Linked DNA regions of Homo sapiens: all the other regions are linked to region 4. Evidence: promoter capture Hi-C in human tissues and cell types (Jung and others, 2019). All regions are on one chromosome and are shown on one strand. The core of a region is centred on a gene start or on the middle of the fragment in contact, and the rest is flanking DNA. Distances in the headings are between cores, read along the strand shown.

What was found. The method cuts DNA at HindIII sites, captures the fragments that hold promoters and counts their contacts. A contact is called where the count stands out against the background at its distance.
Region 1: a fragment that was not itself captured here is called in contact with the fragment with the promoter of ZBTB26 in region 4 in 1 of the 25 tissues and cell types used here (dorsolateral prefrontal cortex).
Region 2: a contact is called between a fragment that was not itself captured here and the fragment with the promoter of ZBTB26 in region 4, in 1 of the 25 tissues and cell types used here (mesenchymal stem cells).
Region 3: a fragment that was not itself captured here is called in contact with the fragment with the promoter of ZBTB26 in region 4 in 2 of the 25 tissues and cell types used here (dorsolateral prefrontal cortex and thymus).

The regions. Positions count from the first base shown.
Region 1 is chr9:123,381,739-123,384,438 of GRCh38, forward strand. DENND1A (DENN domain containing 1A) reads right to left here. Exons shown (of 24, transcript NM_001352964.2): 23 at 1,917-2,175; 24 at 1-887. Among named protein-coding and RNA genes, the nearest start is that of MIR601, 20 kb to the right of the region's middle. The HindIII fragment of the contact is 4,004 bases long and covers 1-2,700 here.
Region 2 is chr9:123,336,660-123,339,359 of GRCh38, forward strand. It overlaps LOC124902266 (a long non-coding RNA gene), which reads right to left. Exons shown (of 2, transcript XR_007061760.1): 2 at 742-2,472. Among named protein-coding and RNA genes, the nearest start is that of CRB2, 18 kb to the right of the region's middle. RefSeq lists enhancers at 1,406-1,565, 2,426-2,700. The HindIII fragment of the contact is 9,022 bases long and covers 1-2,700 here.
Region 3 is chr9:123,275,735-123,278,434 of GRCh38, forward strand. No RefSeq gene overlaps it. Among named protein-coding and RNA genes, the nearest start is that of STRBP, 8.5 kb to the left of the region's middle. The HindIII fragment of the contact is 6,973 bases long and covers 1-2,700 here.
Region 4 is chr9:122,930,111-122,932,810 of GRCh38, forward strand. ZBTB26 (zinc finger and BTB domain containing 26) reads right to left here and starts at 1,402. Exons shown (of 2, transcript NM_020924.4): 1 at 1,327-1,402. It also overlaps a transcript of RABGAP1 not described here. RefSeq lists a silencer at 1,174-1,513. The HindIII fragment of the contact is 7,569 bases long and covers 1-2,700 here.

The DNA.
Region 1 (2,700 bases), core at 115-2,614, 450 kb after region 4:
AGGGGGCTCGTGTGGGTGCCCATGGGCATCTGGCCAAAGAGGTTGGGCATGGAGAGGGCGGAGAGGTTGGGCTGAGACCTGTGAGGGGCACAGAAGCCAGCACTGGACAGCAGGAGGCCGGACGCAAAAGCCGGCCCCAGGGAAGCTGGAGGGGCCCCGAAAGGCCCGGCTGGTGTGGAGACCAGGGGCAGGGTGGGTGGGGCTGCTGGCATGGATGGGACAAAGGGGTTGAGTGGTGGCTGTGGGAATGGGGTGGGTGTCCCTGCAGGGGGGAAGCTGAATTGGGGGGTGAATGGGGTGGCTACATTCGGGGTGGCGGGGCGTGACGGGAGGGTGCTGCCTGACCAGGCTGTGCTGAGCGGGTCCAGGAGGGCGAGCAGGGCGTCACTGCTCGTGCCTGCAGCCCCGGGGCCAGGGCTGAGCGGCTGGAGCAGTTCAGTGGGGCCTTGGGGGACAACACCAGGCAGGAGCCCTGGACTCAGGGCAGCTCGCCTGTCCCGATCCGTCTGCAGCCGCTCTGAGACGTCACCAAGTGCGGCGCCGGCAGCCTGGAGCTTGGCCGGGCGGGGAATGGGCGGTGGAGGCACGATGCCCAGCTCTGGGGTCTTCCTGCCTTGGGGCCGGGGGATGGTGATGCTGCCCAGAGTAGGGGTGGGCACCTCCTCCTTGTCACTGGGGTTCAGGATGCTGTCCCGGTTCTGGGGCCTTCGAGGCAGGGCCAGGGAGTTTCCGAGCAGGGCTGAGGGCTTCTCAGGGGAGGCAGCTGGGGGCTTGCTGGGGATGGCCATGTCGTCCTGGCCCAGGCTCCAGAGCTTGTTGTACGGGTGGGTAAGCTTCAAGGCCACTGTCACCCCGCGGCTCCTCTCACTCCCGCCCAGATCCAGCCTCTGTTGGGAGGGAAGGAGGGCGGCAGTGACCACGGGCTGAGTTGGGACATATGTGTGCCCATTCCCACACCACTTCTGTGTGCTGAATGTGTGCTGGGCCTAGTTGTGTGGCTGATCAGCTCCTCGGACTTGGAACAGCTGAGGGCTCCCCCAGGTTACCAGCAGAGGACCCACGTGTGCTGGGACTCCAAGCCTGTGCTCCGGGAACTCAAGACAAAGCTCTCGTCCCTTTATGCCAGTGGCGGTTGCCAAGGAGTTTTAGGAAAGTGACTCCAGCTACCGGCTGGCCCTTTTTACTTTTTAGATCGCAGGCACCCGCAATCACCTGTAAGCCCGGGGGCGCGAGTGAGACTCAGGGCCTGGTAGGAGGCACCTTGGCTGGGGAGGAAGGAGGAGGCCAAGTTGGAGTCCTGGCTCTGCCACTTGCAAGCCACACGGCCCGGGTGCCAGTCCCTTTCTCCTGGCCCAGGTCCTCGTTCCCAGCAGGGAACACTCATGAATGACTGGAGCTCTGTGAACCCCACGGTGTGACCCAGTGATGCAAAGTCAGAAGACCCCACTTGCAAGTGAGGAAACTGAGGCACCGAGCGGGGATGTGATGGATTAGACGTCACAGTGGGAATTACACACTGATTTGCATTCATAATGCAGAGCCAAGAACTTGCATCCACAGGCTCTGCCAAGGAGCCCTGGCAGGGATGGACGCAATCCCGGTTCCAGCAGGGGCTGCAGCCCTGCCTGGGGGTGCGAGGAGAGTGGCTGGCAGCACCCGCCCCCCCGTCTGATGCACACACAGAGTGGGGCAAGTTTCCATCGGGCTCTAGCATCTTCTCCTACCGTCACTGTTAGGGTGGTGTGGGCCCCGGCACCCTGGGAGGTGTTTACAGTCACACTGACCCTGAGCATTGGCTGAGGGTCTTGGAAAGTCACTGTTTCTCCCTTAGTCTCTTCCACTGTCACATGGGGATCCCACCTCGTGTGCGGACAGTGCCGGCCCCCGGCCGATACCCTCCCTTGCCCATGCCATACCTGATAGTCAAAGGTCCCTGGCTGCTCCCTCAGGTCTTTGGGGGCACGAAGGTCCTCTAAGCTCTTGGCCTGGCCCAGTGGCTGCAGTGCGGCCTCCATGTCCAGGTTGCTGAAGACGTCTTCCAGAAGGTCGATGCTGGCAGCCCGGTCAGGGGGAGCTGGGACAGGGCCTGTGGACTTCCGCACTTGCTGCTCTGGACTCTCTGCCTCGTCGCCTTCCGCGCTGTCTGACTCCCTGAGTGTCCGATACGGCTGCGGCCTGTCGGGGACAGAGCAGGCTGCACTCTCCCACCCAGGCCTTCAGGGGAGGAGCAAGCGGACTCCAGCCCAAGCACATTGAGGGCTTGAGGGGTGCACGCAGGGGCCTGCGGGACAGGAGAGTGTCCCGGGGTCTCCGTGAGGGCAGGAGTCTGGGAGGCTGCGAGGGTGCAAGCTGGGCATGCCGATGGGCCTGGGGCTGTGAACCAGGGCAACTCGCTTTGGCTCTCACTTGCACTCAGGGGACCCATTTAGTGCCCCCCAAACTACAGGTCCTTTCATAAAACTGGCTACTGGGCTTGTGAGCCATTCAGACAAGGTGTGAGGAACAGACAGGACTGGAAGGGGGCTCACAGGCCAGCAGTCATGCTCCTCTTGCTCCCGCCCTGCTCTGCTGTTTGTTTGGTGGCCTAGGCACAGCCACAGTCAGGTTCTGTGAACAGCCCATGGGGAACTGGGCTGGGGAAGCTCTCCAGGGGAGCTGTCTGGGCCTAAGCTTGCCCTGCTAACCTTGGTTCCACCTCTG
Region 2 (2,700 bases), core at 13-2,512, 410 kb after region 4:
TGTGGGGGTGATGATGCTGGAGGGAGGAGGCCAAGCCTCAGCACCCCCACCCTGGCCTTGCTGCCTGTGCCAAGGTACCAAGCCTTGCCTCAGCTTTCCCCTCTTGGGTGTGGCTCCACTCTGTACAGAAGGCCACCTGGAGGCCTTTCCTGAGATCTCCTATCTTACAGGTGGAGGGAGAGTAGGGTGATGGGGTGGCATGGAGGAGGGAACTTCACCGAGGGCCCAACTCCCATCTTCTGGGTAAAGTCCTCTAGTGAGAGCCCAGAAAAATCACAAGAGTCCAGCCCCCCAGCCATTGACCAGCTGGAGAAACTGAGGCCCCAAAAGTGGAGGTACTTACAGTCACTCAGAGAAGTGGGTGCAGAGGTGGGGCTGGAATTCATCTCCATGCCCTTCCCATGGCCTGTGCTGGGAGTGTGGCTTCAGATCTGAGAAGGCCTTAGATCATTTGTTCATTCCTTCATTCATTTGTTCATTCATTCTTTCATTCAGCTAGTCAGTCAACAAACATTTCTTGAGTGTCCACTCTGTGTCAGATGCTAGATTTAATAATTGTGGGTATGGCTTGGTCCCTGCCCTCATGGAGTTTATAGTCTAGCACTGTGCTGCCCAGTGCAGTAGCCTCTGGCCACATGTGGCTGTTGAGCAGTTGAAATGCAGCTGTTCCAAACTGAGATGTGTTACAAGTGTGAAATACACACTGGATTTTGAAGACTTAGTATGGAAGAAAGTAAGATATCTCAATGATTATTTATTTATTATTATTTTTTTTTTTAGACAGAGTCTTGCTCTGTTGCCCAGGCTAGAGTGCAGCAGCGCAATCTTGGCTCACTGTAGACTCTGCCTCCTAAGATCAAGCAATTCTCCTGTCTTAGCCTTTTGAGTAGCTGGGACTACAGGCACACGCCACCAATCCTGGCTAATTTTTGCATTTTTAGTAGAGACAGGGTTTCACCACGTTGGTCAGGCTGGTCTTGAACTCCTGACCCTAGGTGATCCGCCTGCCTCGGCCTCTCAAAATGCTGGGATTACAGGCGTGAGCCATGGCACCCAGCCATTAATAATTTTTTTTATCTTGATTACATGTAGGAATGATATTTGGAGTATAGTGGGTTAAACAAAATATTAGATTAACTTCTTCTGCATCTTTTTACTTTCTTAAACAGTAGTTACAGGGGACGGTGGTTCATGTCTGTAATCCCAGCACTTTGGAAGGCTGAGGCAGGAGGATTGCTTGAGTCCAGGATTTTGAGACCAGCCTGAGCTATATAGGAAGACTCCACCTCTACAAGAAATAGAAAAAATTAGCTAGGTGTGGTGGCACACGACTGTAGTCCCAGCTACTCAGGAGGCTGAGGTGGGAGGATTGCTTGAGCCAGAGAGTTCGAGACTGCAGTGAGAAGTGATTGTGCCACTGTACTCTAGCCCTGCTCATTCTTCTGAGAGGAGGTGGCTTCCTCTTGCCAGTGAGGAGGTCTCTTGGGGCCCGTGTGAGCAGCCGAGTACTTGGGGGCACCAGCTCTGTGGCTGTACCACCTGGACCTGGTCTTGATTCTGCCACTCACCAGCTGTGACTCACCACCCCACAATGACCCACATGATTACAATTGTGCTATGGGTCTTTTTTTTTTTTTTTTTTTTTTGAGACAGGGTCTTGCTCTGTTACCCAGGTGGGAGTGCAGTGATGTGATCACAGCTCACTGCAGCCTCGAACTCCTGGGCTCAAGCTACCCCCTAGCCTTAAGCTCCTGAGTAGCTGGGACTACAGTTGTGCTCCACTGCGCCCGGCTAATTTTTTAAAAAATAGAGACAGGATCTCACTTTGTTGCCCAGGCTGGTTTTGAACTCCTGGGCTCGAACAGTCATCCTACCTCGGCCTCCCAAAGTGCTGGGATTACAGGCATGAGCCACTGTGCCCAGCCTGTGCTGAGTTTTGCAGGGAGAGCACTCGAGCAGGTTAATGGCAGCGTCCGGCCAGTGGAGGAGGTGGCATTTGAGTGGAGGCCCCCAGGGTAAGGAGAAGCAACTAGAGGGGAACAGCATGCTGGACCAAGGGAACAGCAGGGATGGAGATCGGCCCTGTTGAGGCCCTGAGAGAAGCAGGTCAGCTTGGCCGAGGCTCAGAGATCTGGCCAGGAGGGGGGCCCTGGTGGTGGACAGAGGCCAGATCACAGGACCTCAAGGGCCACACTGAGGAGATTGTTCTTTATCTGGAGGGCAGCTGGGAGCCATGGAAGGTGTGTAAGCATAGGAGTGCCTGGAAGCCTCAAGCGCTCTCTGGCCTTGTATAAGGATTGAGAGAGGCAGAGTCTGAAGCTGGCTTTCTCTTCCTCCAGAGAGGTGGCCCATGGCAGGGCTTGAATTCTCGCCAGGTGGAGCTTGCTGGAACTCCAGCTTCACTGCTCTCTCGCCGTGTGGCTGTGTGACCTCAGCCAGATGACCTGCCTCTCTGTGCTTCGGTTTCCTTATCTGTAAAACAGGAATAACGGTGGTGAGTCACTCGAGGGTTCTGCGAAGACTTGGTGACGTAACGCTTGCGAAGTGCTTGGCACAGAGTAGGTCCACGAATAGTTGTCCCTTTTCCTTTTCCCTTCCTGAGTCCCCCCACCCCACCTGTCAAACACCATGCCCCCGCTCCTCAGGCGGCAGGAAGCAGGATCGGAGGAGCGTTTCTGCACCCGTCAGAGTATTTATAGC
Region 3 (2,700 bases), core at 169-2,668, 350 kb after region 4:
AACAAAGGCCAGCTCCCTTCCCCAGTGCCTGGACGCCCTCCTTTCCTGCCCTCTAAGGAACTACACTTCCTAGTTTGTTCCTCTCTGGTATGGCCAGCCTCTCCCTCTCTACTGGATTATTTCCATTATTATCCAAGCAGTCTCTTCCATTGTTTAAAAAGAAAAAAGAAAGAAACAAGATCTCCAGGTGATTCACCTGCACCTTACCATTCGAGAAGCACAGACCCAATTTCAGCAGGTACAGATGCCAATCAGAGCCTCAAATGCCATAGCAGAATTGCTGTTGCTGATATGATGTCTGAAATGGTGAATAACTCTTGGTAGGGTCTAAGCAAAACAAGATATAATCTTCATTCACTTTGCATAGTATTTGCCTCCCTGGAGTATTAAAATCATGCTAGAATGTACTTTGTGTTTATATTAAAAATGGAAATTAGTTGTTAAGCTCACATAATTATATATGGGACTTTCACCCATGTAAGTGTCCAGTGGGACATTCAAAAGTCATATGACATGAGGCCAGGCATGGTGGCTCACGCCTGTAATCCCAGTACTTTGGGAGGCAAAGGCGGGTGGATCACTTGAGGTCACGAGTTTGAGACCAGCCTGGCCAACATGGTGAAACCTTGTCTCTACTAAAAATACAAAAGTTAGCCAGGCGTGGTGGTGGGCGCCTGTAATCCCAGCTACTTGGGAGGCTGAGGCAGGAGAATCACTTGAACCCGATAGGTGGAGTTTGCAGTGAGCCGAGATCACGCCACTGCGCTCCAGCCTGGGTGACAGAGCGAGACTCCATCTCAAAAAAAAAAAAAAAAATCATGCAATGCTATCCATGCATTATATGACATCTAGCATCTCAGACTTCTCCCCCTCAATCAATACCATTATGATTACCCAACTCCACCACAAATGTCTAAAAGCTCCCAATGAAAACCATGGCTCTAGAATCTCATTCAACAGCCAACTCAGGATCTACTTGGATGTCACATGCTACTCAACTGTCCATAATTACCTAATCTTTCTCCTAAACTCCAAAACCATCTCTCCTACTGTTCCCCATTTTCAATTCCCTTATTGAGACTATTATAGCTACTGATAGTATAGGACTTATGTGTGTAGAATTTTTTTTTGATTTGTTCTTTTTGTATCCCTTAGAATAGTGCTGGGCATACAGTAGTCAACTATTAAATATTTGTTGAATGAATACCTAGCAAAATTTCCCATTCCCCTACCTTGAGTAACAAACCCCAAAACAATTTGGAAGGGGAGAAACCTGCAAGAAGAGAGCATAGACTCTTGGTCAGAAGCCCCTGCTTCCTACAGAATCTCTGCTAATACCCTTGATAATTCTATTGGCCCAAGATGCAAAAAAGCCCAGAACTACTGCTTAAACTTTCCCACCAAAGTACTTGCGCCTGGCTGGGAAGATTGAGTCAGCCCCACTGGAGGTCTGGAAAAGAGGCCCAGATTCACCAACCTCAAGCATAAAATTTCTCTGAAGTCTGGCCGGGCGGGGTGGCTCATGCCTGTAATCCCAGCACTTTGGGAGGCTGAGGCAAGCAGATCACTTTAGTCCAGGAGTTCAAGACCAGACCTGGCCAACATAGCGAAACACCATCTCTACTAAAAATACAAAAATTAGCTGGGCATGGTGGCGGGCACCTGTAATCCCAGCTACGTGGGAGGCTGAAGCAGGGAGAATTGCTTGAACCCGGGAGGCAGAGGTTGCAGTGAGCCAAGCTTGCGCCACTGCACTCCAGCCTGGGTGACAGAGCGAGTCTTTGTCTCAAAAAAAAAAAAAAAAAAAAAAAAAAAAAAAATTCTTTGAAGTCTCACATTTTATCTTTAAAATTCATGCAAATTTTATGTTTTATTCCCATGTTTGTTTTAACATTAAAATAATGTTTTTAATTACCACCCTTTAGGAGAAAAATTCAAAGCCTGTTTTCCCAACTCTTTAAGTAGAAATTCACACTCCAGGAAGACATTTCTTGTTCATGCTGTGGCTCTGAGTAATTCCTGGCATACCACCGCCTAGCTCTGGTGGTAATTATACTAACAGCCAACATTTATTAAGCACTTATTATGTGCCAGGCAATATATTAAGCACTTAACATGCATTATGTCTTTAAACCTTGCAACAGTCCTATGAAGTAGGTACAATTTTTATCTTAATTTATAGATGAGGAGACTAAGGCTCCAAGAAGGTAAGTAATTTGCACTATATCACTGAGCCAATAAGTGGAAGACGTGGGATTCAGCTCAGTGTTCTCAATTACTGTGCTGCCCATTCCAGTTTGAACAGCAAGGTCCTAGACTTCTAGAACAAGACGGGCTTAAGGCAGCAGGAAAGCCCTAAGAAATCATCCAGCCCCAGTATTTCACAGACCAGGCAAAGTTCTGAGGTGTCTGTGGATTTCTTGGTGGACATATTTTCAGGGGTCCACAAGTGCTAAGATAAGTTTCTAAATGGATGTCTTGGTTTCAATTATAATCTACAAATAATAATAATATGAGTAGGAATCACTAAGACAACCATCTTGTAAACAATCTCTGGCACCCCAAAATTTAGTGATGATGTTTGTGCAAAGTGATTGCCTAAAGTGACAGAGTTTAACAGAGGCAGATATCTTAGATTGGAGGCCAAATTTTCAAGGGTCAGCAAGAAGTTGATTCCTTTAAAACAGTGATTCTCCACAA
Region 4 (2,700 bases), core at 152-2,651:
TAGCTACAATGTTTAGGCTGAGCTAAAGATTTGCATTTCCAACTCCATGCTGGACAGCTCTATGTGTCTGTCTCATTAGACCTTTAATTCAACATGTCCAAAAAATGAATTCATAATCTACACTAAGCTTATGGCTTTATTTCTGATAATGGCATTACCATCCTTCAGCTCAGAGGTCTAAAACCTAAGAATTAGATTTGGTCCCTCACACTTCTTCAGCATTCAGTTAATTATGGAGTCTTGACATAATCATCTCCAGTATATTTGTCTCCTTACCAATGACACCATTATAACTTATTTCAGGAATTTTTTGCCTCTCACTAGGCTGATCCCATTACCCCTTCAAAAGAATCTCCGATAAGCGTTCCTAACTTTTAGCTAAATGTCTAAATGCAGTTAATAGAAAGTCCCTTCTCTATGGGCTTTCTACAGAACAAAATGATTTCCTGCAGTGCAAATCTGACCATATCAATATTCTGTTCCGAACTCTTCAAAAAACTACCCATCTCCTTTAGGATTACACCATTCACCATCTGGACCTCGGTCGACTTTCCCAGTCTCATATCCATTCTGTGCATAGGAGTCCCCCCATTTCCTCCTCTTCCCACACAAGTTATGCTCAGTCATTTCTCCACAGTATTGCAACTGTCTTCCCTGAAAAACTCTTCAACACTTTACTCTCTCCAAGTACAATTCAGACATCACTTTCTTTCTAAAGCCTTCTCAGCAACGGCCCCTTGAGCAATTAACACATATGTGACTGATACATACATACATATATATACACATAGGAGTACTTATTTGTTCAGATCTGGCTCCCAAACTTAATCCCGAAAACTGGAACAATATCTTGCCAATCTCCAGTGTCTGGTATAGCGCCAGTAATATAAAAGGTGCTGCGACCAGTGGCCAAATAGGGGAAAACCCCAGCAAAAGGGTAACCTAGCACTCACAGTGGTTCTCAAAGACTGGCACTGAATGCCTGGTCTTGGGCTGGCTCCCGAGGCTCGTTTTCTTAGGGCCTCACCTCTGGCACTTCTTATAAGATGCCAGAGTCAGGCCCCCAAGCCAACTGCTGGGCCCTCAGCTGGGGTCCTATGAGGCGGTCCCAGGGGCATCCTCAGGCTCCCCACTCCAGTCACAGGGAAGGGAAAGGGGCGGGGCGCAGCGTGGGCCGGGCCAAGGGCTCCTCAAGTCCCCAGGGGCCTAGGCCAGCCTCTCGGCTCCCATCCCAGTGCAGGTCCCGGTTGATCCAGGGCCCCAGGGGGGTTCCATTTTGAGACACCCCGCACCCCAGCCCGCCGCTCCGGCCGTCTCCGCACTTACAGACCCGGGGGAAGGCCGCCGTCAGGATCCGGCACCGCCAGGAGCTCCGGCCCCTCGGGGCTCCGGGAAGGGGGAGGGGCAAGGAACCCGAGCCAAAGGGGGACCCAACGGAACCGGAAGGGCAGCCCTGGCCGGACAAAGACAACTTCCAGGTCCCATGGTCCTCTCCGCCAATCGGAAGGCTCGGAGGACAACAGGGGCCCCGAGAGGGAATTTCTGCGTTGTGGGCGGGGCGCAGACGGAGGGCACCGTACTCTGGGCACTAGCTTCACTGCCTACTACCCCGAGGTGCCTTAGCTCGTAAGCGTCTGTGGCTCAGGCCCTGTGCGCCTCGCAGGGACCCGCTGCTCGGGACCCCCGTCTCAGCGGCTCTTCTGTAGCTGGGCCTAGACGGTCCGCTGCCTCCTTGGGCCTGAAGGGCTCCTCTGCACTTAAACTTTGGTAAGTCTTTTTAGCCTAGGGGTGTAGACTCGTCGCGCGGGAGCCCGAAGAGCAGAAAGCTCTCCCCTCACTTTTGGATGTGTTTTTCAGGGTTCTTGCCTTGGAGTTCTTCCTAGGGCAAACTCTTGCACTCCCATGGCTTCCGTTACCTACTTCATGCTGACCATTCACAACCCAGGCAGCTACATGGACGAGATCTCCAGCTGTCCTGATGTGAAAGTACCTTTTAATGATCTCAAGTTCATCTCATCTCCTATCCAGACCGGAAAACTTGAGGATCCTTCTAGAGTTCTTTTCCTTGCCAATCCAGTTTACTGGTTTTTGACCATTCTTTTCGTTTTTGGTGGTGGTGAGGGGCTTTTTATTGAGGTAAAACATGCGTAATGTTTATTACTTTAATCATTTGTAAGTGTAAAACTTGATGGTCTTGAACTCTGGAGTTAAAGTGATCCACCCTCCTCAGCCTCCCAAAGTGCTGGGATTACATGTGTGAGCCACTGCTCCCAGCCTTTCCCTCTTTTTAATGTAGTTATTTACAACTATACATTTCACTTTGATCACTGTTTTCACTACAGCTCATAAGTTTTTGTATGTTGTGTTATTTTCATTCATTTCTAAGTATTTTCTAATTTCCCTTTTGATTTCTTCTTCTTTTTTTTTCTTTTTTTTGAGATGGAGTTTCGCTCTTGTTGCCCAGGCTGGAGTGCAATGGTGTGATCTCGGCTCACCGCAACCTCCGCCTCCTGGGTTCAAGCGGTTCTCCTGCCTCCGTCTCTAAAGTAGCTGGGATTACAGGCATGCGCCACCACACCGGGCTAATTTGATATTTAGAGATATGGAGACGTGGTTTCTCCGTGTTGGTCAGGCTGGTGTCGAACTCCCGACCTCAGGTGATCCACCCGCCTTGGCCTCCCAAAGTGCTGGGATTACAGG